5 separate regions of the Homo sapiens genome follow, and all the other regions are linked to region 4. The links are contacts of gene promoters, found by promoter capture Hi-C in blood cells and fetal thymus (Javierre and others, 2016). All regions are on one chromosome and are shown on one strand. Each heading gives the region's core, a stretch centred on a gene start or on the middle of the fragment in contact. The rest is flanking DNA. Distances are from core to core; before and after follow the strand shown.

Region 1 (6,036 bases), core at 2,989-5,488, 810 kb after region 4:
AATCTTTTCATCTATCTATGACCTATAAGCACACCCCCACCGTGCTTTGAGTTGTCCCACCTTTCCAGACCAAACAAATGCATATCTTACCTGTATTGATCGATATCTTATGTTTTTCTAAAATGTATAAAACCCAACCACTTTGGGCCCATGTTCTCAGGACCTCCTGGGGCTGTGTCACAGGTCATGATTCCTCACATTTGGCTCAGAATGAATCGCTTCAAATATTTTACACAGTTTGACTCTTTTTCATCAGCAACATTTTGTGTACCCTTCCCCCAGAATATCGCAGAAATCCTGCTGGGGAAGGGTACAATGAATCCTACCAACAACCATATAAGTGATCTTGGAATGGGATCCTTCCCCAGTTGAGCCTTGAGATGAGACCACAGCCCCAGACAACACCTTAATCACAGCCTCATGAGTGACCCTGATAGAGAGAACACAACTAAGCTACACAAGGATTCCTGAGCCACAAAAAGCATGAGATAACCCATGTCTGTTGTATTAATCTGCTAAGTTTTGGGATTGATATGTAATCTTAATTGATAAAGAAATAGACTAGTAAATTCTAGAAAACCCCAAGAGAACTAAAGGAATTCCTCAAGGCAATATGGTTCACTCTAGTGTGAGGGCTGAGTGTATTTGCCGCTGTATCCCAGCACTTAGTGAAGTGTCTGGCACTCAGTAGGTGCTTAATAAGAAAATGGCTCCTGGAAAGAGAAGAACAGACCTGGGTGGGAATGAGTAGAACTTGGAATGGGGAAGTAGGCAGAGTGGATCCCAGTGTGGAGTCCATTTGAAATTGAAAGGGTTATCAGGAAGAACATGGATTCACAGTGTGGCCTCAGATATTCTGCTGTGACTGGGTATAAAGCCATTTCCAGGCTGTCTCTGGCACTGATCCCCAGGAGTTTGGACATAACTGGGGTGAACACTCATTGGTGCTGTGGGGCCTCCTCAATCTGTGCAGTGCTGCTGAGAACATGGGCTTTGGAGTCAGAGAGCCCTGAGTTTAAATCCCTGAGACTTGTGTGACCTTGGGTTAGTTATCTGACTTCTCTGAACCTCGGTTCTTCATTTGGTGTCATGAGTATTGCAGATGAATCAAATGAGGTAGCTTAATAAATGGTCATTCAAATCCAGCCGAATCCAGTTTAAAAAGCATCCTCAACTCTTATCAGACAGGTACCTCCCAGGACATGCAACAGCCTCAAGCTGGTTCCTGTCGGCCCCTCCTATGGCCATGGAAGTTTTCTATAGAGGCCAGGGACTCAGTACCCCTGGGGCTCACACACCCCTTTGAGAAGGCCATGAACGCTGTGTAAAGTTATGATGAACAAAAAGTCTATTTCCCCGGGAACCTGCAGTAGAAGCGCCTGGCGTTTCTGTAGGGACCGGACTGTGCTCCCTGCAGAACGCCCTTCCTAGCGCAAAGACCTAGCGGTGCCCAGAGGAAAGCCTTCCTGATACCTTCCCCTCCTACTCTCCCGGGAACTTCATCCAGTTTTTCCACGGATGCTTCGGGCTGATCACGACCTTTCTCCCAGCCTCACGGACAAGGACGAGGTCCACTCGGATTGGACAACCTGATTCAGGATGGAGCCAAGAAGGGGATGCAGCGCGAGGAAGCCTGTCAAGACTTAGACAAACATACAGCACCTGGAAAGGGACTCCCCGAAAGCACACTTAAAGGGACTGCCACTTAAAAAGTAATTTTTGGGGAAAGAAAAAATAAAGAGAGGAGGAAAAGTTAGGCCCAACCCAAGGCCTGTCCGCTTTCCCTCAGCCAGTGGGAAATTAAGGATCCTGCATGGTGCCACAGCGCCCCCTGGTGGGAAAGACTGAGATTGCACTGAAGATCTCCAGACATCCATGTCTGGCTTTACCCTCTCACCTCTACTTGGGAGGGAAGAACATTGGAAATTATTTCCCAAGACTGCATTCCCTCAAGTTAAGTATAATGCTTGATTTCCACTATCAAAGGTAAAAAAGACATGTCTTAAAACCCTGTGTGAATAAGGTCGTGGGACATCCCAACCTAGCATTCCTATAATTAACAAAAATCACCATTTATTTGCCCACGTCCTGAGCCAAGAATAATCTAACGCAATGCTTAAGACAGCCTTACCATGCAGCCTGTCTGTTAACCATAGTTTTACAGGTGCAGGCATAGACTCGGAGAGGGGCTATGGCCTTGCTCAAGGTCACGCGGTCAGTGCCAGGATTCTCAAGCCTGGGCTCTCAAACGCATCGCTATTAACTGCCTAGGAAAAACATGACCGTCTCTGCTTGGTTCCCTCAAAATACATGATTAATTCTTTTTGATTCCCAACATTGTTATGTTTCTTTTCTCACTGAATATTGACTTTCCATTAAGCAACTCCAAAGCCTAGTTTTTCTAAGAAAGTATAAGTCATCCCTTTGAGAAAGCTTACTGATCACATACTGTTTTCAAGGTGGCTGGGCTAGGCACTGTGGGAAAAGTCCACTGGCGGGAGGCTCCCAATAACCTAAGGTGACTTTGGTGACTCTGACATAAGGCTACGCTGAGATGCTCCAAGCTTTGAAATCAATGTGTGTCGCTAGTATAAGAACTGGATTAGGCTTGGGGGGTCACTGTGATACAGACGGGCTTGGGTGCAAAGTGTACTTGGAGTTGGAGAGCTCTGAGTAAGCAGAAGGCAGGAGAGGGGAGGGACGGGCAATGCTCAGGATTAGGGCCCCTGATCAAGCACACGGGACGTGGCAACCACAAGAAATCTGGGGCAAATAATTTGGTAGCAGCCTTCATTTTAGCACAGAAATGCCGACAAGTTTCTTCTTGCACGCCCACTCTGATCTTTTGGTAGAAGCAGGCTGAAGTTATTTGTTGGGAGGACTCTGAAGCCATGCCCAGGCTCCACGGGAAAGTCAGCTGTGATTGACTAGAAGAGAGCTGCCTGCACACAAGAAAACTATGCAAAAAGGCTGGGCGTGGAGGAAATGACCTAACACAACAGGAGAAAATCCGAGAGAACGAGATAAGAGTACTAGAGCCTGAACCCAGTGGGAATGGATAGGGTTCTGAGTGATTCTGTGGGCATGGAAGAATGTGGAAGATAGAAGTAATCAGCATAAACAAGTAGGAAGTATTGCAGGACAGAAAACAGATGTCTCAGGCAGACAGATGATACTGGGGAGGGCAACTATAAAGAGAGAAGGGGACTCCTTGGAGGTCAACATGGCTGTCCTGTCCCTGGCTCTCCTGGCCCGGCCCCTGAACTGAGATCCAGGAGAGCAAGTTATGAGGGGAGAGCAGCATCTGGACATGCTTTTGTCCTCTTTGTCAGAATTGCCATGGGAGCTGAAAGCATCTGCCCAGCTGATATGCTTTGGATCTGTCCCGCCAAATCTCATGTCTGATTGTAATCCCCAGTGTTGGAAGTGGGGCCTGGTGGGAGGTGGTTGGATCACAGGGGTGGATTTCTCATGAATGGTTTAGCACCATTGCCTTGGTGGTGTTCTCGCGATAGTGAGTGAGTTCTCCTGAGATCTGGGTGTTTAAAAGTGTGTGGCATCTCTTCACTCTCTCTTGCTCCTGCTCCCACCATGAGAGACACCTGTTCCCCCTTTGCCTTCTGCCATGATTGTAAGTTTCCTAAGGCTTCCCCAGAAGCCAAGCTGATGCCAGAATCATGCTTCCTCTACAGCCTGTGGAACTGTGAGCCAATTAAACCTCTTTTTTAAAATAAACCACCCAGTCTCAGGTATTTATAGCAGTGTGAGAACAGAATCATACAGGATCCCACTGCTTGAGTCATAGAAGGCAAAAGGAAAAGAGCAAGAGTGGATGGAAAACAAGGAAGGTAAAAGCAAGGTGAGATCCTGTGCTCAGGGAATAAAGTAAAGAAAAGTGAGCACACTTAGCATTCATTCAACAAACATTTATGCAACGCCTGCTATGTGCAGTCCTCATAATACAGCAAGCTTCATTGAGATCACAGAATTAAAATAAAACTAGAAATCAAAAGCATAATGACCTGTTCTATATTTCCACTCACGCCGTTAGCCACGACATATGTCCTGACTCAGGAAACAGCTAATGAGTGTGAGAGCGGCCTTCAATGATGTCATGTGCCTGGAAGCCACCCTGCTCTAGAAGCACCATCGCTCTGCTCTCAGGTCGCTGCCTGCCTGTGCTCTTCCTCCATGCTTTATTTATAACCCCTTTGCCTTTGCCTCTACCACTGCCATCATTTTTCACAGCTTTTCTTTATTCCTCCAAATTTCCCCTAACATGTATCTGCCCTTAGCTCCAGGGCCCTTCTGAAGTTTTGCAAAAATGTTCTCTTTTATTATTCACTTGCCAACACAAGCATTAGTAAAAAGGAGGAGAAAAAAAAGAAAGAAAAGTGCCCTATTTTTAAAGTTTGAAATGTTAAAGTTGTCTAAGATTAGAAGAACAAAATCTTCATTGATTTTATAATATTGTAAGGAGATACTTTTCACCCATAATCTAGCTCTTTAAGCTTATCGTAATGTTCATTTGCATGTTTCCTTTCAACATTTCCCCAAAAATCTAGTCTGGGTTATGATATATAATAACCAAGAGGTATACACAATATTATTTTTCATGTTTTTTCAAAGTTATTTCAGAAACACTACTTTTACATAGACTTCATATTTATGAATTTAATAGCTATTGTACTTTATGCTGCTGTCCCATTTTTAGCTGTAGCTTATTTCCTCTTTTTAATAACTTCCTCAGGATAACTTCCCAGAGCCAGAACACTAAGTCCAAGGCTAAGTCTGTTTCATTGCCCTCATTGTGTATTGTTACCTGGCTTTCCAAACGGGTAGCATCTACTGCCACTGGGGATGACATTGCCAAGAGATCCATTGGAAAATTCGCTGGTCATGGACATCAATGTCCAATGGCAATGGTCCAATGGCAGCATCCCCCAAACTCCAGTTCCTCCAGAGGACAACTCATCAGAATTAGTAATCTCCTCTAGTCTGCTGAATGTTCAATGCCTCAGGAATAATAATAATAATAAATGCATCCCATTCTTTCCCTATCTGTTCTCACCCCAGTGACCCCTGCTCCAAGAGGCAGCCACTCATGCTGTGGGGCAGGGTTGGTTTCCACCCTAAGCAGAAAGCCCAGGACTCCTGGCCACAAGGAGGGCTGGCTCAGGGCTGGCCTATTTCTGCAGCTGCTTTCCAGCAACTCTGACACAGACCCTTTTTGGCAGAGCCATCGTCATCGCCTGGGGCCCATCTTCTAGCCTCAGGTCCTGCGGCCTCCAGCCAGGTGAACCATCTGGAAATCTTTCTCACTGATATCCATGAACTCTCCACCTCTTGCCTGCCTGCCTGGCTGGACTCTAAACCTGATACACTTCATGGCTGCAAATGATCTGTGTTTACTTTTCTTCTTGTGGGTTTGGCAGGGGCTAATGTCACATTCCTCTCTTCTGTAGGTGACCTTCCTGCCTGGGGCTTCCGGGGCTTGGTGACACATGCCCTGCAGCACAGAGGCCACTCTACCATCACTGGGGCCCCAACCACACAGTCACCAGACTAGGTGCGCTGAGTGTCTTCCATTTGTCCCTCCCATCCACTCTCCATGCTCTCCTCCCCATTATGCCTCAGAAGGCCAGCCGTATAAGCAACTGCTGCAGACTTCCTGCCCTCGGCTTCCGGCTGGGCTCAGCCAATGGGGATCCCCCGCAGGAGGTCAGAGGGAGAGATGGTAGGAAGGTCCTCTGAGTATTGATTCCTCACTCCCTCACTGCCTGGCTGGCCCTTCAGTGAAAGATCAGAGTCCCAGCCAAGCAGTCTTTGCTGGGCTCTACTAAATATTCCCTCCAATTGTCTTACAAAAATTCACCCACTGAAAGCTTCCAATTGTACAAACATCACCACAATAGAAGTTTAAAATATTTTCATCACTTTAGGAGGCTGAGGTGGGCGGATTGCCTGAGCTCAGGAGTTACAGATCAGCCTGGGCAACATCGTGAAACCCTGTCTCTACTAAAAATACAAAAAATT
Region 2 (5,264 bases), core at 2,566-5,065, 770 kb after region 4:
CCCAGCTCAGGGCCTTTGCACATGGCGCAGCCCCTTCCTGAAACTCCCCTCCCTTGCAGAGCTGCATGGCTTACTCCTTTACTCAACACAGGTCTCTCCTCAAATGCCACCTTCTCAGGAGGTGCCTAGGACCAGCCTGTGCCAAGTCACCTTCTCCTTGCTCTGCTTCCTTTCTCCATGCACCAATGCCATGTGGAGTGCACACACTACATACAACACCTTGAGGGGTCCACACACAACACTGTGTCAGTTATACACACAACACCAGGTGGAGTCTACACACAACACTATATGGGGTATACACACAACACCATGTGGGGTCTACACACAACACCAGGTGGAGTCTACACACAACACCATGTGGAGTCTACACACAACACCATGTGGAGTCTACACACAACACTATATGGGGTATACACACAACACTGTGTGGGGTCTACACAGAACACCATATATAGTCTACACACAATACCATGTGGAGTCCACACACAACACTATATGGGGTATACACACAACACCATGTGGGGTCTACACACACCACCATGTGGGGTCTACACATGATGCCATGTGAAGTCTACACACAGCATGATGTGGAATCTACACTAACTTGTTTATTTGCTTGCTGTATATCCGCATCCCCCCCACACATCACTAGAACTTAGGTGGCACGAGGGCAGGAACTTGGATGTGTTCACTGCTGTAACCCCAAATGACTGCTGAATGAATGGAATGAATGAACACAAAGCGTCCTCCCCAGCTGCACATCTAAAGCAGGAGGAGCCCCTCTCAGTTGGCCCCTGGGGTGCCTGTATTGAGTTTCTCTCTGTGGATGCCAACCATACATGGCTGATGACGCTCCTGACAAAGCCCAGTGGAGGTTTTGGTTGCCTATTTCCCCTCTTTTTTAAGCTCTGTACCAAAATTGATTCAGATCATCAGATACAGGCACCCTGTTCCTACTTTGTTAACTTTTCTCCAAAACACTTCATAGAACCCTGAGTCAACATCCTAGCTACGGCTCCTATGGAAGTTCAAAGCAAGAAACAAAATTATGTCCACTTTTAGAATAATTATGTGAACTTTTTGTTCTTAGTAAACTGCTATAAGCTTAAAATGCATCAGCTTTCCCAAGCTTCCTATCTGGCCTGCTTACTGTGTAATTGCCATTTTTAATGGTAACATATTTTAACTGTATCACATCACTCTAGTAGAAGAGATTTGCAGCAATATTTACTTCTTTGGTCATATTGTTATCATGATGAATAAACGGGTATGGTAACATCAGAAGATTAAATTCTCTCTCTTAATGGAAAATTAACTCTGAAACCAGACATTCTAGAATTTCTGTTTCCTGGAGCAATGGTTCCTGATTTGTGGGCAGCAGAGCCCTGGGGGACACTCCAAGCCCCATCCTTCTTCAAGGAGTCTCGCAGTCATTGTAGGCGCCAAGTGCCTCCTGCATACTAACTAACAGTCTTGTGCACCAAGGCTTGACTGTCATGTAAATGTGTCCTCACAGGACTTTGAGATCAACAAGTTATGACCTCACATATGCTTTTGACAGTAGGTATTTTTCAATCAAACTGCACCTATTATCATGCAGAAGGCTCTCAAATAGCTAACCTCAAAGGGATCTGTGTGCTCTATAAAATTTAGAACAGCTTCTCCATAATTTGGAGTCTTTAGGAGAATACAATATATTCTAATGGAGATATTTATCATCAGAAGTTTACAAAGACATATGAAACAAAAGCTCAGTTGCAAGACATTAAGAGACAGTGCAAATAGCAAGCAATTAACTAGGAATTTTCTTTGGTCAAGTTTCTTCCCTGATATGAAACTCACTTCATGTTTAGCTTCCCCTGTTCTAAAAATCCAGCAACACTACAATAAGTTCACTCTCTGCATTCACTTCATACTATGTTCCTAATGCTGCACTGGCAACTTTGCTGCTCACTTTTAATTAAAGCACAAGGGTTGTGGGAAAAACGACTTCTGCAGGCATTGTAATCACTCTGAGGGACTGCTTTATCTGTCCTCTAACTCTCTATGTTGGCCTCTGAATAAAGCTGCCCTCAAATGGGTGGACAGTCAAGTACTCTTCATGGGGGTCTTAGTTCTAGAAGGCACAGAGATGACGTATGTGGGAATTCCAAACACAGGCAGGAAGAGGGAAAACACATGGAAGTGATTTTAGTGCCTAATTTTGGCTATCTCTATACAAGTATGACAAGATCGAACACATCTGAAAGAAGGAATCGGCACTGACATTTTATATCAACTCATTTAAGAGCATTGCTAAATTCATCGCAACCTTTGATATTCAAGACCCATAAATATCAAGACGTGTGCGTGTGTCTATGTGCATGTGTGTGTGTTACAGATACAGACCTCACCATTTCACCATTTGTGCATTGCTGCAACTCTGTCGAGCTTGGTTTCAGCCTTATATAACCCTGGTGGGAAAACTCAACTAGAGTGAGGCAGTGGCTTCTCCACCAGGGTGTGACAGTGGAGAACCAAACAGATAGGTAGAAGTATGGACCCAGCCCCTCCCCTTTTCTCAATACAGGCCATTTTCATCAGTCTATCTAATTTGTTTATGCCTTTATCCATGTATTTAGGTGTGTACAAAAGTTGGGCTGCTAAAGAAGTTTGAAATCCACTGCCCTCATCTACATTTTCACTGATGCATAAATAAATTGCTTTATTTGAGTCAAAATGCATTTATTTTGTGAGGGATTAAAAGGCCAACTATATTGCAATTAATTCTAGAGCCTATTTTTGTTTTAAGAATGAACTAATGGGGACCTATACATGTTGCAGCCATCCAGGTTTTTTTTTTTTTTTTTTTTTTAAGCAATTAAAGCAGCAACACAAATCCCTTGGTGTCCTGGAGAAGATGGGGTGGGTCAGAGGAGAAGCAGCACAGGTGGTAGAATCCAGGGACCTGGCCCCACCCAAGTCCTCACCCTAGTACACTACCCCAGTGGCCCTGAGCAAGCATTTGATCACTGCCATTATGTCTGCTGTGCTGGGGGTGGAGGAAATGGGAATGATATCGTCAGTACTCCCAATGCTAAAGGATGGTTGAGAGGATCAGCCTGATCTACAAGCTTGTTTTCAATTAATATTTTCAAATATAAGTTTGGGAGGGGAAAAACATTCAAGCCAAAGCATAGGATATACCTGTTTAATGAGAAATACATAATGAGAACATTAGGATGATCACAAGAGGGGCTTCATATGGGGTCTAAAACAGAATTAAATTCTAGCAAGCTAAAGATTGTTTCCGGACGGGCATGGTGGCTCACGCCTGTAATCCCAATACTTTGGGAGGCTAAGACAGGTGGATCACTTGAGGCTAGGAGTTTGAGACCAGCCTGGGACACCTGGTGAAACCCCAACTCTACTAAAAATACAAAAATTAGCTGGGCGTGGTGGCACATGTCTGTAATCCCAGCCACTCAGGAGGCTGAGGCACGGGAATCACTTGTACCCGGGAAGCGGAGGCTGCAGTGAGCCGAGATGGCGCCACTACACTCCAGCCTGGACGACAGAGCAAGACCCTGTCTTGAAAAAAAACCCTGAAATATAAAAAGTGAAAGATTGTTTTCCTAAGGAAATCAAAAAGAAACAGTCATGGGGTTATGTTGCTAGGAAAGGAGGAAAGTGAAGGCAATTTGTCACCCTGAGAAAGAATGGACTTCTGCTTGACATCTCTAGCTCTGTTTTTCCTTTGTTCTTTTAAATAAATAAACAAAACATAAAGAGAGGAAAGCCCAGAATTCCAAAATAATTTAGCATAAGCAAAGGGAGACAGACTCCAGAGAGACCCACAGTCGGCTTCCCAGCCGGCCCTCCGAGCTTGTTCTCAACTTTTCCTGATACCTCCGCCCTGCCCTGCTGCCCCCACAGCTCTTTCTGCAAAGTGTCAGGGACTCCACCCTCGGGAGGGTCTCACTTTCCACATGAGCGGCTCCTCTTCGCATGTTTCCTAATTGGACCTATTTAAATCAGGAATCCACTGCCTTGTGCAATTAGGCATCTAATAATTGTTCAAAGTTGATGGTAATTTTTATAAGTTTGCCAAGGTCATTTAAGCCTAATGAACTTGAGTTCAATCCAAACTCTAAGTAATGGCTCATTTACAGTTTGGATGTGTTCAGTATACAGTAAGTTGGTTTTTTCTCTAACTGCACTGGTTTGCTAAGATATTTCTGACAATAATTTTTTAGTAATGCCCTTTGTGGAGTAATGAGATTCTGAGACCATGGCCTTTAAGATACTTGGGTAAGGTTTACTTATGTAACTGTATTGTATCCTCCGTACAAGCCTTTTTATCCCTTATTTTTTTTCTCATTGTTTTTTCTCATTGTTTCCTTAGAATATTCATTTTTTCTTCATTATTTTTTCTCATTGTTTCCTTAGAATATTCATTTTTTTCTTTTTTCAATTTTATTTAACATCATTATGTCTTTTTTCCTCCACCCTATGGAAGGTACTTTTTACACAAAAGCTTCTGTCACTAACTATGATTGGAAATGTGACATCCAGTGTGAACATTTATCTTAACAGAATCATTAATTTACAACAAAATGCTAAATACCAGTCCCCTCCAGGAAACAGTGAAGCAGACTTTGCATTCCTTAGCTTTTTTCTTATAAAAGATATTTTAGATCCATTTTACTGCATGAATCATTTCTCTTCCAAATCCAATATGTTAAACGATTTCACAGTATAGCACTTATCAAAACCTACATCCTGGCCAAGTGCAGTGGCTCACATCTGTAGTCCCAGCACTTTGGGAAGCCGAGGTGGGCGGATCACCTGAGGTAAGGGGTTCGAGACCAGCCTGACCAACATGGTGAAACCCCATCTCTACTAAAAATACAAAAATTAGCCGGACGTGGTGGTGCATGCCTGTAATCCCAGCTACTTGGGAGGCTAAGGCAGGAGAATTGCTTGAACCCAGGAGGCGGAGGTTGCAGTGAGCCGAGACCATGCCACTGCATTCCGGCCTGGGTGACAGGGTAAGACTCTGTCTCAAAAACAAAAAACAAAACAAAACAAAACCCTACATCCTGTGCCAGGTCCTAGAATGATTCCACAATAGTGGTGGTGTCCCCTGCTGGGTTTGACCCTGTTCTTTATTTCAGCTAGTGTCCGCAGCAATGACTCTCAGCAGATGCTTGTCACAGCGGAGGGCATGTTTCATGCTAGCAGCTGCACTGCATTTGATGTGCAGGACAGCCCTAGGAGGG
Region 3 (6,061 bases), core at 1,403-3,902, 720 kb after region 4:
GAGTTTATCCTTCTGTTAGTAGTGTATGAACGTTTTTGTAGCTCCAAACCCCTTCCACTCTTTTCATTGTAGCCATTTTGATGGGTATGTAGGAGCACTGCATTTTGGTTTTAACGAGAATTTCCAAAATAACTAATGAAATTGAGCATCTTTATATAAGTTTATTGGACATTTGGATTTCCTCTTTTGCTTAATGACTTTTCAAATATTTTGCCCATTTTGAAATCTGATTATTTTGTCTTTATTTTGTATGGATTCTGTATATATTCTGGATGAAATTTTTGTTGTGCCTGTGTGATTCATTGTACTCCATGGAAAGTTGGTTAGGGCAGTGGCTGATACAGACCAAGTAGCTGAAAGCGGGAAATAGAAGAGGAACAACTGAAAGTATCTGATACACCTGGCTACTGCCATCTCTCACCTGGGTGATTTCAAGGGCTTCCCAATGCCCAATCCAGCACCTAATCTTAATAGACACCCAAAGTATTTGCTGAGTGATCTTACTGTTTCTTCCTTTAAAAATCTTGCTAATGATTTTATTTTCTACAAAGGTAACCTTTCTTCTCTAATGTCATCTATCACTTGAGACAGTAGAAAGATAATTAGACCATGGTTTGATATGGGGATGGAGTAAAAAGATGGGATTTGAATCCTGTTCTGCTTCTCACTTGTTTGGTGACCTTGGATATCTCTGAAACATGATAATCTCATCCATAAAATAGGGATCATAATAGTCCTATCAAATAAGGTATTGTGAGTATTAAATGAGTAACTCTACGCTGGGCCACTTAATAGAATATCAGGTACAAGGAAGCCCTCAGTGAAGGTTAGCTGTCATCATCATCATCATCCTTGTCATCGTTGCCATTGTTGTTATCTTATGATTATTAGGTCCCTGCTTTGCTAATCTTCAATTATGTAGCATGGCTTCTTCATCTAGATAACAGAAGTAAGAATGATCTCTTCCTAGGATGCTTGGAAGAGTGGGATGAAACAAATTTGTGAAAAAGCTTGATCAACATTGGTCCCATCTACAAAGACTGGGTCACTATTACTCTGATGGTCCTCATAAGTCTCAGGCTCTCTGACATTTAAAACAGATTTTGTAAATGGAGAGAAGTCAAGAGTGATTTAGATAGAGGAGGGGATGGCGAGTCCTCTAAATAGAGATAGAGACTTACAAATATGTATCCCCAGAGCATTGCTTCACTAGATCCCCAGGACAACTCTCCATGGGAGATTTATTAACCCCTTGCGCAAATGAGGAGAAGAAAGCTCAAAGAGATCAAGGAACACACCCAAGATCACAGGACTAGTAAATCACAGATTCCAGGTCTGTGTGTGTCCCAGCCCCCACTCCTTCCCCAGCCTAGCTCTCCACTTTCAACCTGAGGAATGCTCTAAATCTCTAGATTCATACAGTAACTTTTGCACAGTTTAAAAACCAGAAATTAATTCCGCGCCCATGGGAATGCTCTCAGAGCGGAGATAATTCTGCAACATATCCTTGTGTATATTTTCAGTGCATTCCGATTTCCACCTGGTTTGGAGCTATAAGTCAATCTTTTAGCCACTAAGCTAAATTCCCAGGGTGCTCTTAAGATACAGAAATTCCAGCAGTAAATAGCAAAGCTGTTAGACAAGATTAAACTTGCCAAAGTGATTTGAGCCGCACTGAGAAAAATGGACCCCCTTGAAATGATATGCTATCAGCCAACAGTAACATAACCCTGGAAACAAACCTTTTAGTTTATAGTTCAACAAGCAGCACACATGGTTAGGAAGGGGACTTGGCTGAAGTCTAGCATCCACAGAGGGTGCAGAGGGTGTGGAAAATGTGAGCTGTACGTCATTTACGTTTCTCTCTTTTCCTGATTAAATGATCATGTGGGGAATTCCTTGATTTTGACATTTGAAATCTACAGAGCCTGTCTGGGAGGTGAGTAATGATAGTATAACTAAAGATTGTGATCAGAGAGGGGGTCAGAGTGTGATAAAGGGGGAATGATATGGAGACAGATGAAGGATGCAGGTGGGGGAAGATCGCAGGCACTGGGAGGCAGTTCCATCTCCATTTCACTCCATTGCTCTTACAACAACTTAAAAATGGAAAACAAATGCTATGGAGACTTCATTTTTCTAAGAAATTGATTCAGTTAAAAAAAAAAAAAAAAAAACCCAAGGTGTGCTTACCCAGGTCAGTATTTTCCCTGTTGAGACCGAAGCAACTGAGGGTTGTACAACACACTCAACTGCTTCTTGAGGCCACTGTAGTTTCCATGGGCAAAAGCAAACAGTCCTGAGCAAATCCCACATGACCTGTTCCATTCTTGACTCTTCTATTTACCTTTGTTTTTGAAGAAGCCCAGACACTAAGGCGACATTCTCATAAGTATGTCACTTTAGCTGAGGAGGAATAAACTACAGTGCTACAGCCAGGTGCCTGATTCAATCACAAAATTATTCAGACACCTGGGGCAATGCCCAGCTGGCAGGGCTACCTGTTTGTTTTTCTTTTCAGCTTGTATTTTGTATTGTTGCCAGCCTTGTGTTTTAGAAGCATTGAGGGCACTTAGCATTTATTTAGTCTTGGTTCCCACAGTCTTCCACCAGAAGCCCACCCCACGTGTAGGCGCGGGCGTTCAGGCGGGCTGCTGCTTGCTGGGAACCACGTTTCTCAGCCTGACTTGTTCTCTCTCTTCCTCTCCTAGAGGTTCAAAAGTCCATTTCCAGTATTTCCCATAGAAAAGTGCTCCTAATATCTGAAAGTATGCTATTTTAGGATGCAAGTAGATCTTTGTCCTTCCTGCTTGGTGGAGATGAATTGGGGCACTGTTCCTGAGCCAGTGGCCTCTGTGAACACTGGAACACTGCCTGGGTGTCCACCCTCATGTGGAGAAGCCATGGGGACAGCTGCAGAAGAGAGTACCCACCTGGGCAGGTGAGGTGACCAACGCTGGACAACATGCTTCCCCGTCCACTTGACTTCTTTGCATCTTGCACTGAGACACAGCCCTCCAAGGGAAGCAGCAGCAGTGAACTGCTTTGTGGCACGATGGCCTTCCATGGAGTCTGAGGAATTCTTCTGGAAGATAAGGGGCTGGAATTCCAATTCCCATTGGCACTACCCCATGCAGGTCTAATACCACTCATTGGGCGATAGTTCTTTGTATTTCAGTCTGACAATACCGTATACAATAGGCTGCTCGGGCTGCCATTCATCCGCCCTTGAAGGGGGAAATTCCTTGAGGTGCTTCAAAGGGAGTTTACACTGATAAATGAGCATTTCAGGAGGTGTGGGAAGAACGCCTGGTCCACGGGCGCCATTGTCAGCATTAGGTGAGTAAGGAGAGCGAAGGTGACATCTGCGGCAAAGTGTCCCAGCAACACACGGCAGGCAGGGACTGTTTTCCTCACCTGCCTTGGCATTGGCTGCAAAACTGAGGGACCCTAAACAGGTACAATTCCTGAGACTGTAAAGAGGGTCAGTGACCCGGTGACTGCCCTTACCCCTCCCACCCCGAGTCCAGGAAGACTGTGTCTCTCCAAATGCCCAGGTCAGCGTCTCCTCCTATTAAAGGGTCTGGAGGATCCTGGGAGGGCAGGATGGGGGGTGTGGTCTTATCAGCCCAGGAGCCTGGGCGCAGCTTTGAGGTCAACTTGTTGTGAGTCCTTGAGCCAGTCACATAACACCCTGGGCTGTAGGTTTGTCATCAGAAGAAGTGTGATGTCTTAGGGCCTTGCTGGTGTGACATTCTAGGATCCTAGGCGTTTGCTGTGTGTCAAATGCATGCATCACAACAGGACAAATGTAGGACCAACCCTTCTGCAAGGAGGCACTTAACACTCCATTTCAGGTGAGCTCTAATGGGAATTTCATTCCTAAAACCTTAGAAGCAAACATGTCTGTATTTCTGTTTGTTAAGTGCATTCTAAACCAATGGGCTGGCCAATGGGCATAAGAAGGCCATGATATCTCCCAACATTCTAGACACAAGAGAAGGTTTTGGAACCAAGTGGGCAGCTGGACCTTAGAGCCAGTGGCCCTTTGGAAGGATGCCAGCCTTCCTAGTTCCAAGGAAACCCATGTAACAGACTGCTGTTTGCAGGTACACATGTTAGAGATGAACACAGTGATCAGCCTAGGACTTTGGGTGTCTGGATCTCAAACCAGATTCTTGCTTGCCGAGTGTTTATCAGAGCGTGTCAATAACAATTTGAAATGAATGATTTTCTCCCACTGTCACATTCAATATTTACCTTTGGAGAAAAGCAGGGTCAGTTCTCTCCAAAAGGAAGCTTAGTTAGTACAATTGGGTATTTTACGGAAAGACGTCCTTAAACTGCACCCCTTAGAAAATGGTAAGGGACTTTAATAGGGAAATGCCCCCTTACCCAGTGTGGCAAGAAAGCACTTGCCACAATCATTTCAGTCATCAGTTCTAAGTGACTTCAGCATTTCCTCATGGCAAGAACAGCGGGCTTGTTGCACAACTGCACTTTTCCTCACCTCTCTTTGGGTTCCTGTTGATCTTTTTTTTTTTATTTTGTATTTTGGAGACGAGACAGTCTGTTCCAAGTTCTGAGTTGGGGACGGTAGCAATTCTCCATGACCAAAACACTCTGCAGCTGCGTCCTTTGGAGCAGGGAACACGAGCTGCTTTGTTGACCCCTCTTCACCCCAGAGGCGTGTCTTCTAGGTTCAGTCCAGGATGCAGCCTGCCAGTCATTGGTCAGGTCACAAATATGTGCAGCACACAGCAAGGTCCTCCCTGTGACCGGCCGGTGTGGCTGTGTGCTGTCTGTCACCCCAGCGCCCTGGACCTCAGTCTGCAGAGAAGCAGCTGTGACAAGCACAGAAAGGCAGGCACTGGTGCCTCCTGTCGAAGCCCCCAATGCACCAGCAGCCCTCGTGTTAATTTAAGAAGTTGACTGAACAATCTGGCACAGTCGCTGGAAACTGAAGAAGGTGGGAAGAGGCTAAGCAAAACCCTTGCTTAATTAAAAGCATATCTGCAAAAGGTCAGGCCTGGCAGGAGGATGACAAAGGCAGTCAGAATTTTAAAATCAAGTCATTCTCTCTTGCGAGATTTCTTCCAGACCCTGATGGATTAGGGATGCTGGGTTTTCTCTTCCAACAGAGCCTGCACAGCTGAGTCGGGGTGAGCCAAGTGTTAGTTCCTTCGCTGTTTTCAGAGAAGTAGGACTTCTTCCCCTAAGGTGACCCCACTCCAACCCCAGGGCAAGAAGGAGGTGACTCTTAGTAAGTGCCAGCCCTCGTTCCCTCTGGAAACCTGGGGTAGATGTGGAAAGCACGTGGTGAGCTCTGTGGGGGCCATGCGACTTTAGGATGCTGTGCCTTGGTTCAAGTGGCTTCTTTAAGAAATCACCAAAACTAGATTCCTGTTGCAGCTAACGGAATGGGGAAAGTGTGGGCTCAGCAAAGTGAATTCTTTGTACTGACTTGATAACCACCTTCACCTTTTTGAGGCCGGGCATGGTGCCCCACACCTATAATCCCAGCACTTTGGGAGGCCGAGGTGGGTGGATCACCTGAGGTCGGGAGTTTGAGACCAGCCTGTCCAACATGGTGAAACCCCATCTCTACTAAAAAAATACAAAAATTAGCTGGGTGTGGTGACACACATCTGTAATCCCAGCTACTCGGGAGGCTGAGGCAGGAGAATCGCTTGAACCCTGGAGGCGGAAGTTGCAGTGAGCTGAGATCGCACCACTGCACTCCAGCCTGGGTGACAGAGCGAGACTCCGTCTCAACAACAACAACAACAACAACAAATCACCAAGACTGGATTCCTGTTGCAGCTGATGGAATTAGGAAAGTGGGGGCTCAGAAAAGTGATTTTTTAGTACTGACTTGATAGCCAGCTTCACCTTTTTGAGAAAAGAACTCTAATTCCAGAAGACCTAACCAGCGCCAATGGGGAAATGGCAAGAGGGTAGATCCACAATAAGCAGAGCTTTCCCGCAGCCAGCTTTCCCGTATTCAGATAGGAAGCAGCAGGCAGCGTGTCAGCCTCTTCCTCCCCTGACATGCTGGGAG
Region 4 (6,156 bases), core at 2,263-4,762:
GCTCTTCTCAGGAAGCTTGTGGGTCTCTGTGTGGGAAGCACTAATCTAATCTCATACCCTCGTTAATAAATGGAGACGTTGGTCTCGAGACAGACAGTGAGTTTCCTGAGGTTACACAGCTCAGTGGAGTAGAGGTTCAATAAATCATCATAATCACAGTTCCCTCTTGTTTCTATCTTAGCTGGTGGCCCTATCCTCTATTCATCACCACAACCTTCCCATTGAGCCCCCCAATTATTTGTAAAGATGCTTAGAGATGATCCACACCAATCCCCTTTTTGAAAATGAGGAAATTAAGGTTCAAAGAGGTGGTGTGACATGTGCAAGGTCACACAGGTCATGGGAGAGCTTAGGCAAGAACCTGGGTCCCTTTCCTCTCATCTTTGTTACTTTGCCTTTGTGTCTTCCTTTGCATTGGCTTAGACTCTTGCCATCTCTCACCTGGGCAACTGCCTTCAATGAACTCCCAGCTAGACTCATCTCCTTCCTAGCCTTTCTCTGCCTCCTTCAAATCCTAGTTTCCCATGTTAGCCAGAGTGGCATACCCCAAATGAACGTCTGACCGTGTTGCTCCCTGCACCCTTGTCCTGAAGTCCAGCCTGCTTTCTCTGTGATAAAGTCACTGATAACGCGTGCCCTAGGATCATGTGTTTAATCATTTAGCATACCATCGTCCTGAATTGAAGCAACCTGGAACAGACCCAAGCACTTTAAACATGTCATTAGTATCAAATTGTCCCTGCAGTGCTGAATCATTAGGTAGGAAATAGTACATGTGTATGTGTCAGTCTGTTTTCTTCCTGCTGATAAAGACATACCAGAGACTGAGTAATTTATAAAGACAATGAGGTTTAACGGACTCACAGTTCCACGTGGCTGGGGAGGCCTCACAATCATGGCAGAAGGTGAGGGAAGAACAAAGACACGTTTTACATGGTGGCAGGCAAGAGATAAGGAGAGCCAAGTGAAAGGGGAAGCCCCTTATAAAACCATCAGATCTCGTGAGACTTATTCACTACCACAATAATCGTATGGTGGAAACTGTCCCCATGATTCAATTATCTCCCACTGGGTCCCTCCCACAACACGTGGGAATTGTGGGAGCTATAATTCAAGATGAGATTTGGGTGGGGACACAGCCAAACCATATCAGTATGTAATTTATAACTGTGGAAGGAATGTAACTTTCTTATAACAATTTTCATAGTTTCAAGTGTTTGGTAAAATGAGACACACAGTAAAGATTTTGCAGGGCAATTAGTAATGTGAAAAGAAAGGATATTTAGGTTCAGGATTCCCAATACACAAATCTTCAACCGGCTGGGACTGGTTTATGAAGGAAGAGCTGTTGAGAGGACGCTTGCTGTAGTCAGGATCCCAACAGAAAGCAGATGGCATGAGCTCAGGGCATGCTGAAGGCAGGCCGGGTTACAGGGGCTACAGGAGACCACTTACAGGTGGCAGCAGCCACAGCGGATGGCCATTCCTAACCCTGTACCTGATAGGGCTGGAGGAGGGGCAGGAGCTGCTGGGCAGGAGCCAAGCCTTCCACAGAAGGAGGCTGCTAAACCCAGCAGCGATCTGGCAGGGAGGGCCGGGGAAGCACTTGCCCTACCCTCACTTTCCTCCAACTCCTATCATTAGTGGCACCCAACAGGAGCCAGAGGGCAAGTGGGACTGATGCAGTTTGCAGAGATCAGCCTCGGGGGGGTGCTTGGGCACGGTGGGCCTAAAGGGTGAATGCAAGATGTACAGCTCAGCACTCCCAGTCCAATCACTGCTTGTGATGACAACCTCCCCTAAACCCCCCCCAGGGCAATCTTCTAGAGAGATGGAAGGTACCAAGTTTGGGATCATGGCTCCTGGGCCTATGGACCCCCGCCAGATATTAGGAAAACCAAGGTGAAGAGGAAGCAAGAGAAGGTTCCTCCCTAAAGCGACTTGCTTAAGTCCCCACTGAAAGGCAGCCCAGAAAGTAGACCCAAACCAAGGGGGGGGGGCGGACCCCCTCGGAAGTTCCAATCTCAGACTCCTCGCCTCAGCACCCTGCAAGCTCCATTCCCTAGCAGCAACTCCCACTCATGTCCCATCTGTGTTCCTCCTGCATGTTGCGCACACGTGTGCATGTGATGCATGTACTTGCGTGTGCGTGTGTGCACCTATGTTGGGAGGGAGAATGGGGGTGGAAAGGAGCCCTCAGCATCCCTTAGAGGCCAAGACTAACCTTGTCCCCTAATCTGACAAGCTGGGAAACAGCACAATACAACTAAAAGTAAATCACAGGTCAGGAAAACACTTTCAGGAAACCTAACAAAGGGATGATGTCTATGTTACGTGAAGAAGTCCTACAAAATGATAAAAATGATTCCAAGAGATGGAGAGTTCCTGCCCAAGACCCAAATAGACAGGTCTTGCACCTGATGAGGCCTACAAAGAAAAAATCCTATGGACAAGACTTTGTCCAGACCTGCAAAGAAAGGATGGGCGACAGGCAGTGAAGAATTACCAGTGTGTGCTTATCAAATGGCAATTTAATACAAACATTCATTACCAGTGATGCTCCTTGGTGAGGTTGTGGTGAAACACATCACCTCACTGTCAGAGGGAACAGAAACCCTTGCGGAAAACAATTTGGAACCAATTTAGAAACAATACAATTTGAAAAAATGTTATGTTCTTGTTCCAGTTATATGGCTCCTAGGAATTTATGGTAAGGATATAATCCCAAAAAAGAAAAAAGCCGTATGAATCCTAATAAAGATGTTCGTTACAGCATTATTTATAGAAGCAAAAAGGTAACCAAATACTATCTTTTTGTAGGCATTTGGTTTAAGTATTTCAGTAGGGGATTGAAATTGGGAAGACTATGTAGCAACATGGAAAATGCTTTAGATTTAGATTTTGTAGATCTCAAGGGAGCAGAACACACAATTATGTGTATGATATGGTTATCAGTGGGTGAAATTTACACACGCAAATGGACAGGCTTGGAAAACAATGGAGCCACAGAGCAGCCACTGTGGTAGGATTAGTTTTTTTGTGTTGTGTTGCACTTGTTGCTTATGTCGCACACGCATGTACATGGTCTATGCAGTACACATATATGCATGTATGTATGAGAGTCAGATATCCGAGTACATATCATTTACTTTTTCCAAACATTTGCCCCTCTACCTCCAGGATCTGCCCACCCCATCAGTGTAACTTAGTAATTAAATCCCAGATGCAGCAGGCTCGTTCTGGTTACCTAGCAGCATGCCGGTGGGCAGCTGAGCCGAGGGGTCTTTCATCCAGTCGTCATTGGCCAGTTCTATCACAGCGTCCACAGGCGTGATTTCAGTGCAGATTAAATCCCTCACTCTCTCCTCATCTTTGGCATCCAGGGCAGACTTTAATCTCTTCACTAAATCTGAGTTGAGTGGGTAGTCGGGAAGGTAATCCGAGTTGGACATTGTTACGTCGTTTCTGCAGTGACCAGCCCTTCTTTTCTTCCTCTAAAGCGACTCCAAAGTCAGCAGCTGTCCGTGAGAGTGGCGTGGGGGCTGCTATAAATAGCAGCACCCTGGCTCCTCTTACAGTCCCTGCGGAGGGCCACCTGCCAGCAGGGAGGTGTGAAGTAATCTTTCCAGAGGCCTCAGCAAAGGATTATTCTAGAGATGGGGGCAGCAGACATGTTTGTGAGTGGTGCAAGAAGGAGAGACAATATTTTCAAAGACAGCTTTCATGGGTATTGTTGAATAATATCTTCTTTTATCAAAAGTGAGGCTCTCTCCTGAAACTTTGAAAACCTCTTCCTGGCACTGGGCTTGGACCTCTATTCTGTGGAAAGGAACATTTTCTAATATTCTACCCCTTGTGTTCCTTCACTTCCTCTAAAAGGAGCGTCTGGTCACCTGCAAATTGGACATGCCTCAAACGCATAGAATGGAATGGAATCTTTGGTTTCCAAATGCAGAGAAGGACTGGCTGATCTCAGGAAGACGGAAGCATCACAGAAAAACAAAAAAAAGTAACCTAAATATTACCTGTGACCTCCCTATGCCTCAAGGCTGGTAAACTTTGCTCAAAGCCTATAATTCCATGACTTGTGGAAGTGTGGAGCCCTCAGGGGGATTTCTGTGCACTCCTAGGGGCAAAGGTGGGGCTTTCTCTCCTTGACCTGTGTCTTCAGTGTGCTTGGGTCTCTGTGTGCCAACCTGTGCATAAGCACAGCTGTGCCTGAAGCTTCTCTGCTGATGCCAAGTGTGCTGTGGTCTCTGAGGGCCCAGGGCGGGCCGTGGAGCTTACAGGGCCTCCTTCGCCTTGCCTTCTATCTCGCCATCTTTTCCATTCCTTACTTTCTTTCTTCTCCCCTGTGCTTAATTTTATGTCTCAATTTGGCTAGGACCCCAGTGCCCAGAGACTTGGCCCAACACTAGTCTAGATGTTTCTATGAAGGTGTTTTTGGGATCAGATTAGAATTTCTTGAACCGGCAGACTTGGAGTGAAGCCGATGGCTCTCCCTAATGTGTGTGGGCCTCCATCAATCAGTTGAACGTCTGAATAGAACAAAAGACTGACTTTCCCTGAGCAAGAAGGAATTCTGGCGGCAGACAGCCTTTGGTCTCAACCTCAGGTCTTCCCTGGGTCTCCAGCCTATCAGCCCACCCTGCTGATGATGGATTTACCAAGTCTGCACAATAGTATGAGCCAATTCTTGAAGAGAAATTCTCTCTCTCTCCCTACATAACTGTTGGTTCTGTTCCTCTGGAGAACACTGACTAATACACCCTCTTCCTCCTTTCAGCTCATTTGTGTGATTTTCCAGCTTCTGTTCCATCTGCACTTGAGGTGCCAGGCACTGTAGTTCCTGCCCAACATCCATTCTCCTTCCACCTGCCCAACACAGCCTGGCTTTCTTGGTGGGGGCACTGTGCCCAGCCCCTGGGGATGAGTCATGTTGATTTAGGTCAGTAGTGTCAGTCCCAGTCTCCTTTGCCTGCACTCAATGTCCAGTCTCCCTTGCAACCCAGTTCTGGCTGCTGGGGTGAGTCTGGGAAGTTATGTGCTTTCCTGATCAAGAGGGACAGAAGTGACTGGCAACACCCTTTCCTGTTCTTGTTTCCTTGAACATGGACATGATATCTGGAGGTGCAGCAGCCACATCACAGCTGGGAGGCAACAGATATGAAATGAAGGATTAACACAGAAAGGAGAGTGGGATGGAAAGCGGGGGAGAGACTGGGGATGACATTTCTGAACCCCTGCCCCAGCTCTGGGGCCCCAGCCACCAGACCTCTTGTCTTTATGCCATAAGCACTTTCTGTGTGTTTTCTGTTACATACAACTGAAGGCATTCTTGGTTGATACAGGTAGTGTATTTACTCTGCCTTTCAATCATGGAAATGTCCTGGTTTTAGTCTAAGGAGGTGCAGGGGGAATGGCTCAGCCAGTGAAGAACTTGAGTTGATCCTCCCAAGCCTTCTATTCTTTGATAATAGTAACGACCTGCCTTCTATGATAAAACCCCAGTGGATTTTGCAATGACAACAGCCAACTCCAGACTCCCCAAGTGGAGGAGCAATGGCACCATAGTTTGGGCTCATGAATGAATAGTAGCCAGCGCCACTGGAGTGACTACCTTTTAGTGTCACAGACCCTGACAAATGGACCCTGATAGAGACATCCTTGGAATCTCTGGCAATGGACTCCTCCCAGAAGGGAAATACGAACTCTGAGGATCTGCCTGCTGTTCAGAGGCTTGACCGAACTGCAGAGTATAATTGGTCTCTGCTTCTTTCTTTGACCAAAGAACTGGGGGTTTTGGAGATTTTTGAGCTTAAATTTCCAAGCACAAATACTTTGCAGCATCAAATATCTTACATGTAGGGAGAAATCTAGCACTAGTACATTTGTGTAGATACAATGACATGAGGGGTAGTGACCACAGGAAAATGATCAGCACTGGGGTAAGGCAATTTAAAGAAACAAAATGAGAATTATTAGAGACTGCTATCAAACTTCAAATCAGAAGGGAGGTAAAGATGAAGCACTTGTTAGGCAGATAATAAGATGACAAAGCCTCAAAATACGGCACTCATGGATCTTAATTACCAAGCTATCTGCTGGGTGTTTAATCAGTGGCACATACACTATGCTAATTATTCCGGCTAATTT
Region 5 (5,828 bases), core at 1,750-4,249, 860 kb after region 4:
ACTCAGAGCAACTATCCGTAACTGATAAGGAACCAGATGTTTTACAGCCCTGTAAAATCAAAGTTACACTCCCTGAGAGAGCTCAATGAAGGTCAACTGGGCTTATTAAAGAAATTGTTCAGAAAGATAACAACAATCATTTTGACATTTTCCAAGTTTTGGATAAATAATTTTTAACACATGTCATAGAAGGAATGTTTGCAAAAGGAAAGGCTATTCAGCATGAGAAGAAAAGATGGGTGGGGATGATGATTGTCTTCAGATATTGGACTGACCACCATGTGGAATAATTTTGTTTATTGCTTCAGAAGGCAAAATCAAGAAGGTTAGAAAGACCAGTTTTGACTCAACACAAAGAAGAGCTATTTAACTGCCTAGACCAGCACTGTCTAATAGAGTTAGAAGACACACCTCACATATGTAACTTTAAATTTTCTGGATGCCACAGTAAAAAGGTGAAAAAGAAAAACAGATAAAATTAATTTTAACAACAATCTTATTTAGCCAATCAAAAATATTATTAGTTCAACATGTCATCAATACAAAAATATTAATGAGATATTTTACATTCTTTTCTTTATACTACATCTTTGAAATCCCATGTGTATTTTACATTTGTGGCACAGCCCAATTTGGACTTCCACATTCCAAGTGCTCAGTAGCCACACAACTTGTGCGTATCAGTTGGTGATGGTCTAGATGGTCTCAGATAGTGTGAGGATCCCATCAGTCAGATACCGTTGAAGCCAAGTTCAATAACCACTGATCAAGGCTGTTTTGAAGGAATGTTCAGGCACTGGTTATGTTAGGACAGTTACCAGGACTCCCCTCCCCTTAACCTGTCTCCACCTTTTATAGCAAAAGCAGGAAGAACAGAATTCCACCTGATAGCATCCATCCCCACTGCCCCCATCCATCCAAATGATAGCAGCAAGGGCAAATACACCTCCTGGAGAGATTAGCAGTTTTCCAGGAGTCTTCTAGCTTTTAGTGTGTCTGGGGGATTTTTACAACCCACAATTAAACTCTGCATTGAAAAGCAGGGGGAAGAAAGGCATCTATTGCCTCTTAGCTGAGCAGCCCATGAACTGGAGTAAGTACCTCCTTGTTAACAAATGCCATGCCTGGATTTCCTCTCACCTGAGAACCCTTGCTATCACTGCAGTTGGAGAAAGGTAAGGGTTTGCCGTTTTGCTAGAGTCAATAACTTTTGAGTAATCTGCATCATATTTGTGGTTGAGCAAAGTAGTAACTTTCCTCTGAATTTGTTGCTTCTCTAAGTAAAGGAAGCTTTCAAAATTAGTGGAAAAGATTGTGTAGTTTTATCCAAATATCTAAAGACAAGCTAAAACCAGGGTGGACATTTTATTCATGTAAATGATTGATGACATTCTCCTGGGTCAATTGAGATAGTGGGAAGCCAGGAGTCTTTGGACATCTTTTTAAGAAATGAGTGGACTTGAATGAGCATGTTGTGTGCACCCACCTGACCAGCATATGTGCATCCTGAATGTGAATCATGATTTTTTCTCCTGGGTGGAGCTGCAGGAAAAGATTTCATTCTAAATGAAAGAGGAACTGGACCATTTTTAACTTGTGAGTCACATGATGGGAGGAATTGCCAAAAACAGTTTTGATTGAATAATGTTCTCCTAATTGTGCACCTGCACCTGATCTCTAAGAAGAGCAATTCAGGACAAAGGGCAAAATGCCCAGTGCATAATAATGCATAAGGTAATAAGAACCTCTTCATGGCTATCCTGTGTCGGTTAAATAACATGGTTTGAAAACTGAATTAGGTTGTTTGTGAGGTTGGGCAGTGAATGAGGTCAATCGAGTAAGGTCCAAAAAATTCCAAATCCATTTGGGAGCCTTAAGCCTGTTGGATGTCTCCCCTTATAACCCTGATTTTTAGCAGACTGGTGAACAAGATTTTCAATGTATTTCTGTCATAAAATACAAAGAATGTAAATGGAAATATGGGAGTGTGGCCTCAACTGCCTTAACTTTGCCTGAGGCAATTTAATATGGACCAACTTCAAAAGATTAGGAAGCTTTAGTTTTCAACATTATCTTACATTGTCAACATTATCTTGGCTAAATGTTTTGATGCTGCGTCTGGTGTCTTTCATGTGACTGGAGCTGTGGATGTAGATGCAGGAATCTGTGCAGGGCAGCTTTTCTGTATTTCCACCCATCCCTTCCTCAAGATAGCAGAAGGGCTCTGACAAGGAAAACCAAACACATGGGGTTGATGCTGTGTTTGAAAACCCTCTTGAGTTGAGATGTGTAAAGCATGTGCTTAGCCAGAGCCAAACATCTGCTTGATTCTCACTCCTCGCTGTCACCCGGTGTCTTGTTGTTTACAATGTGCTGCCATAACTCACTTGGTGTGTAGGGTCATTCCTACCACTTCATTCCTTGAATGTCCGATCACCATCACTGCTGGCTGAAACGCAGTCCCTTCAAAGGCTTAAATAAGTCTTTTCTAAGGGCCGAAGAAGTGCTCTTGAGTTATTAGATATTTTTGAAAAAAAGGTTTTCTTCATGTTCTTGCTTTTTAAATAGTTTGTTTGGCCCTTGAGTCGTCAGTTCTTTTGTCATATGAGTGGAATGGATAAGTTTACTAAGACTTGGCAAGGAAGAAAATCTATGGGGAATTAGAGGCTGAATTCCTAATAATTAAGAACAATTTTTAACGTTTATTTTAAGTTGAGGGGTACATGTACAGGTTTGTTACATAGGTAGGCTTGTGTCATGTGGGTTTCTTATACAGATTATTTCATCACCCAGGTATTAAGCGCAGTACCCATTAGTTATTTTGTGAGGATGAAGAGAACAAAAATTATTTAAAAGACCCAGCCAAGGCGTTATTTTAGGGGCTTGTCACACACTTGTCACTCACCAGTTTAAATGATCAAATCCACATGTATGCTAAATTTAAGCAAAAATTAAAATATACAAAACCTAACAAAATTATCCTGGACATCGACTAAGAATAAAAGCCGGTCACCTGCAGTGTTGGCATAAGGGAATGGCTAGGGGGTGAGCAGTGCCATGGCCCCTCTGCTTGGAGAAGTGCAGTGGCTTTAGCTGCAAGCTCCAGCCCTGGTCCAGCCTGTTAATATCATCAGAGACCGTTAGGTTGGCCCTGCACATTCAAACCATGTGGCCCTGCCTTTGACTGCCGCATAGAATGTGAGAGCACCCAGCTCTCATCAGAAAATTAACCCCAAACACTCTGTATCCAGGTTTTATGAAAGGTTCAGTTGTGAAAAATATTCTCAAAGTGTGCTTCCTGGACCACAAGTTGGGCATCGCCTGGAAGCCCCAGTCCAGACACACTGAATCAAATCTGCATTTAACAAGACCCCAGTGATTCTTGAGCACCCTGATGCTTGGGGCAGCAGCTCTGAGGATTTACAGTCTCTCCATTTCAGCCCTCACTGTGCACTTGCTTGGGGCCTGTGCCTCTGGGGCGACAGTATGAGAAGGAGGCAGAGAAAACGACTCGTGTATTCTACTGAAATATGGAAAGGGCTGTGCCCTGTATCACCAAGTAATGTTTTAAGTGAGAAATTGCTCTCTGATATGGGTGTCAAGAGAGGGCCTTGTGGATACTGTGTATCTTACAATTGGTTACTTCCATCATTTTGCCTTGGCTTGTAGAGAGCTCAAACTGAATACAGAGCCCAGCAGCTGTTCACAGGCACGTGGCATTCATTTTCCTTCTTGTTCAACTTGCCAGCTCCCCTTTCCCTCTACTTACTGCCCACACACCCAGCTCTTGTACTTAATTCTCTTTCTCCTGAATGTTTTTTGGTAACTACCTTCCATATTTTTTGTAAAGCAAGTGGGGAAATATATTAATATATTAATGCCATTAATGAAAACTAATGGTCATCTCTGATGGTGATGATGGTGATGTGTCCTCAAGTGATAAAAGAAGCTTTTGTGAGATTTCTCAAAGAACCACATGCTAAATTGCTCAGCCCCAGCCTTTGGCCTTCACGTCCACCCTGACAGCAGCTGCTGGGAGTCAGGTGTGGATATGCCAGGTGCACCAGTAGGTTGTGGTCATTAGTCCTTTCGTCATCAGAAGGGGAAGAGAGACTCCAACTCGGAGAGCTGGTGATTTTTTGCCTGTGTATGTATTGCTTGAATTAAGTTCTTTATTTTAGTTTAGTACACTGCTGTGTTCTCAATATATGTGACTTCATCCTCGCAAAACTATGGGGCTGGGTGTCTCCATTTTGTAAATGGCGGAAGTGAGGTGTTTGCTTGCCTAGGTTCCCGCAGTGGCATGGTGGATGCATCAAGGCAAAGCCAGTGACCTTAGTGGTCTTAGTTCTCTCACCGACTGACACAGAGGAAAGAAATCAGAGAGCTTCCTTGAGCCTGAGGCCATGGATAATAATGATCACTTAGACATGAAGTTTCAGAAAGAAAACAGAGACATCTTGAAATCCTTAGTGTCAAACGTTCAGATGAAAGGAGCATATTAAATGCCTCAAGAATCCCATTCACTGGGCCCAGTAATTTTTCTCTTAGTCATCTTTCTAAAGAAGTAATCTAGGATGTGACAAAACATTTTGGGAACAGGAATAATCATTACTGTGCTACTTAAAAAATTAAAATAACATTTGTAAAGGAGGCAAAACTCAATGGCTTACAACAAAAAGCTGTATTCTCATGCTCATGGGTGAGCACAAGAGCCACGGCTTGGCTGATGGGGCAGGATATGGATGGCTCAACTTCAGCCTAACCTTCAGGGGGACTTGACTCTGAGCTCTATTCTGGGTTCAGTTTTGCTCCACAGCTGTCTGGCCACATTCTTCTCCCAGTGGATCAGCCATGCACTGGAGGGCAAGCTAAACCTCACAGCCCTGTGCCAATCCTCCCCTCACAAGACTGCTGACATCCCATGCTCTGTGTAAGCACAGGAACAAGGGAAAAACCCACAGGGCAGGGAAGTAGACTCCACTCATAATGGGAGACAGGGGCAAGTATATATTTGATGAGTGATCATAGAAATAACAACTGTGATCTAGATTTGCTTTGCATTGGCACACATTGTTCTTCAGTGGAGTACCATGGAAGGGGCTTATTGGTACAACAGCATGGCACACAATTTTGAAATCAGGCAGCCCTGACTTTGAGTTCTTGCTCTGCTATTAATATTGACTAGCTGTGCTCATATATATGTTCCTTAACTGCCACTAAGTCATAGTTTCCTCAATTGCTAAATTGGGTTGTTGTGAGGATTAAATGAGAAAACAATGTGGAGCTCTTAGCAAAGTGATGGGTTCTTAGGAAGCAGCCAATAAGTAATCATAACAGTTAATATTAGTGGTAGCTATTGGAAAGGTATTTGAGATTCAGGGATGAATGAAAATCACTGTAAATCTAGAACCCTACCCTTATCTAAACTATCAATCTCTTTTTATTGAACAGTTTCAAATTTATTTTTGATAAACAATTTTAATATAGTCAAACATTTATTAGAAGCAGAAAAGTCATTGTAGAGCACTTGAATTATATTTAAAAGTTTAGCGGTCTAAACTAGCAATCTAAGATGATTGTGAAATAAAGGCATTTAAAATCCTCCTACTTGCTTATCGGAACTACCATACCAGTCAGGATAAGCTAAGCCACGCTGCGCTAACAAATGGCCTGCAGATCTTGGTGCTTTACACTACTAGCAAATGTTTCTTTTACGCTTCTGCTGCCTGTCCACTGGGGGTCAGCAGAGGCCGTCTTCTCTGTCAGCATCACTCTAGGATGCCGGCCACCCAGCAGCCTCTCTGTGCCACTCAGCAGAGGGAGAA

What was found. Contacts are between HindIII fragments. The CHiCAGO score rates a contact against its expected background, and 5 or more counts as called.
Region 1: a fragment that was not itself captured here is called in contact with the fragment with the promoter of ASB18 in region 4 in 1 of 17 cell types (endothelial precursors); the score reaches 5.9 in endothelial precursors.
Region 2: a contact is called between a fragment that was not itself captured here and the fragment with the promoter of ASB18 in region 4, in 1 of 17 cell types (naive B cells). The highest score is 5.4, in naive B cells.
Region 3: a contact is called between a fragment that was not itself captured here and the fragment with the promoter of ASB18 in region 4, in 1 of 17 cell types (total B cells). The highest score is 5.9, in total B cells.
Region 5: a contact is called between a fragment that was not itself captured here and the fragment with the promoter of ASB18 in region 4, in 1 of 17 cell types (neutrophils). The highest score is 6.6, in neutrophils.

What each region holds. Positions count from the first base shown.
Region 1 is chr2:237,070,698-237,076,733 of GRCh38, forward strand. The region is part of intron 1 of COPS8-DT (COPS8 divergent transcript); the gene reads right to left. Among named protein-coding and RNA genes, the nearest start is that of COPS8-DT, 12 kb to the right of the region's middle. RefSeq lists an enhancer at 4,933-5,502. The HindIII fragment of the contact is 542 bases long and covers 3,968-4,509 here.
Region 2 is chr2:237,032,273-237,037,536 of GRCh38, forward strand. The region is part of intron 1 of COPS8-DT (COPS8 divergent transcript); the gene reads right to left. LOC105373950 (a long non-coding RNA gene) reads left to right here and starts at 4,402. Exons shown (of 3, transcript XR_007088140.1): 1 at 4,402-5,264. The HindIII fragment of the contact is 1,403 bases long and covers 3,115-4,517 here.
Region 3 is chr2:236,984,331-236,990,391 of GRCh38, forward strand. The region is part of intron 1 of COPS8-DT (COPS8 divergent transcript); the gene reads right to left. Among named protein-coding and RNA genes, the nearest start is that of COPS8-DT, 98 kb to the right of the region's middle. The HindIII fragment of the contact is 3,289 bases long and covers 1,009-4,297 here.
Region 4 is chr2:236,260,894-236,267,049 of GRCh38, forward strand. ASB18 (ankyrin repeat and SOCS box containing 18) reads right to left here and starts at 3,513. Exons shown (of 6, transcript NM_212556.4): 1 at 3,248-3,513. The coding sequence starts at 3,452. The HindIII fragment of the contact is 4,209 bases long and covers 14-4,222 here.
Region 5 is chr2:237,116,657-237,122,484 of GRCh38, forward strand. No RefSeq gene overlaps it. Among named protein-coding and RNA genes, the nearest start is that of COPS8, 34 kb to the left of the region's middle. The HindIII fragment of the contact is 1,895 bases long and covers 2,053-3,947 here.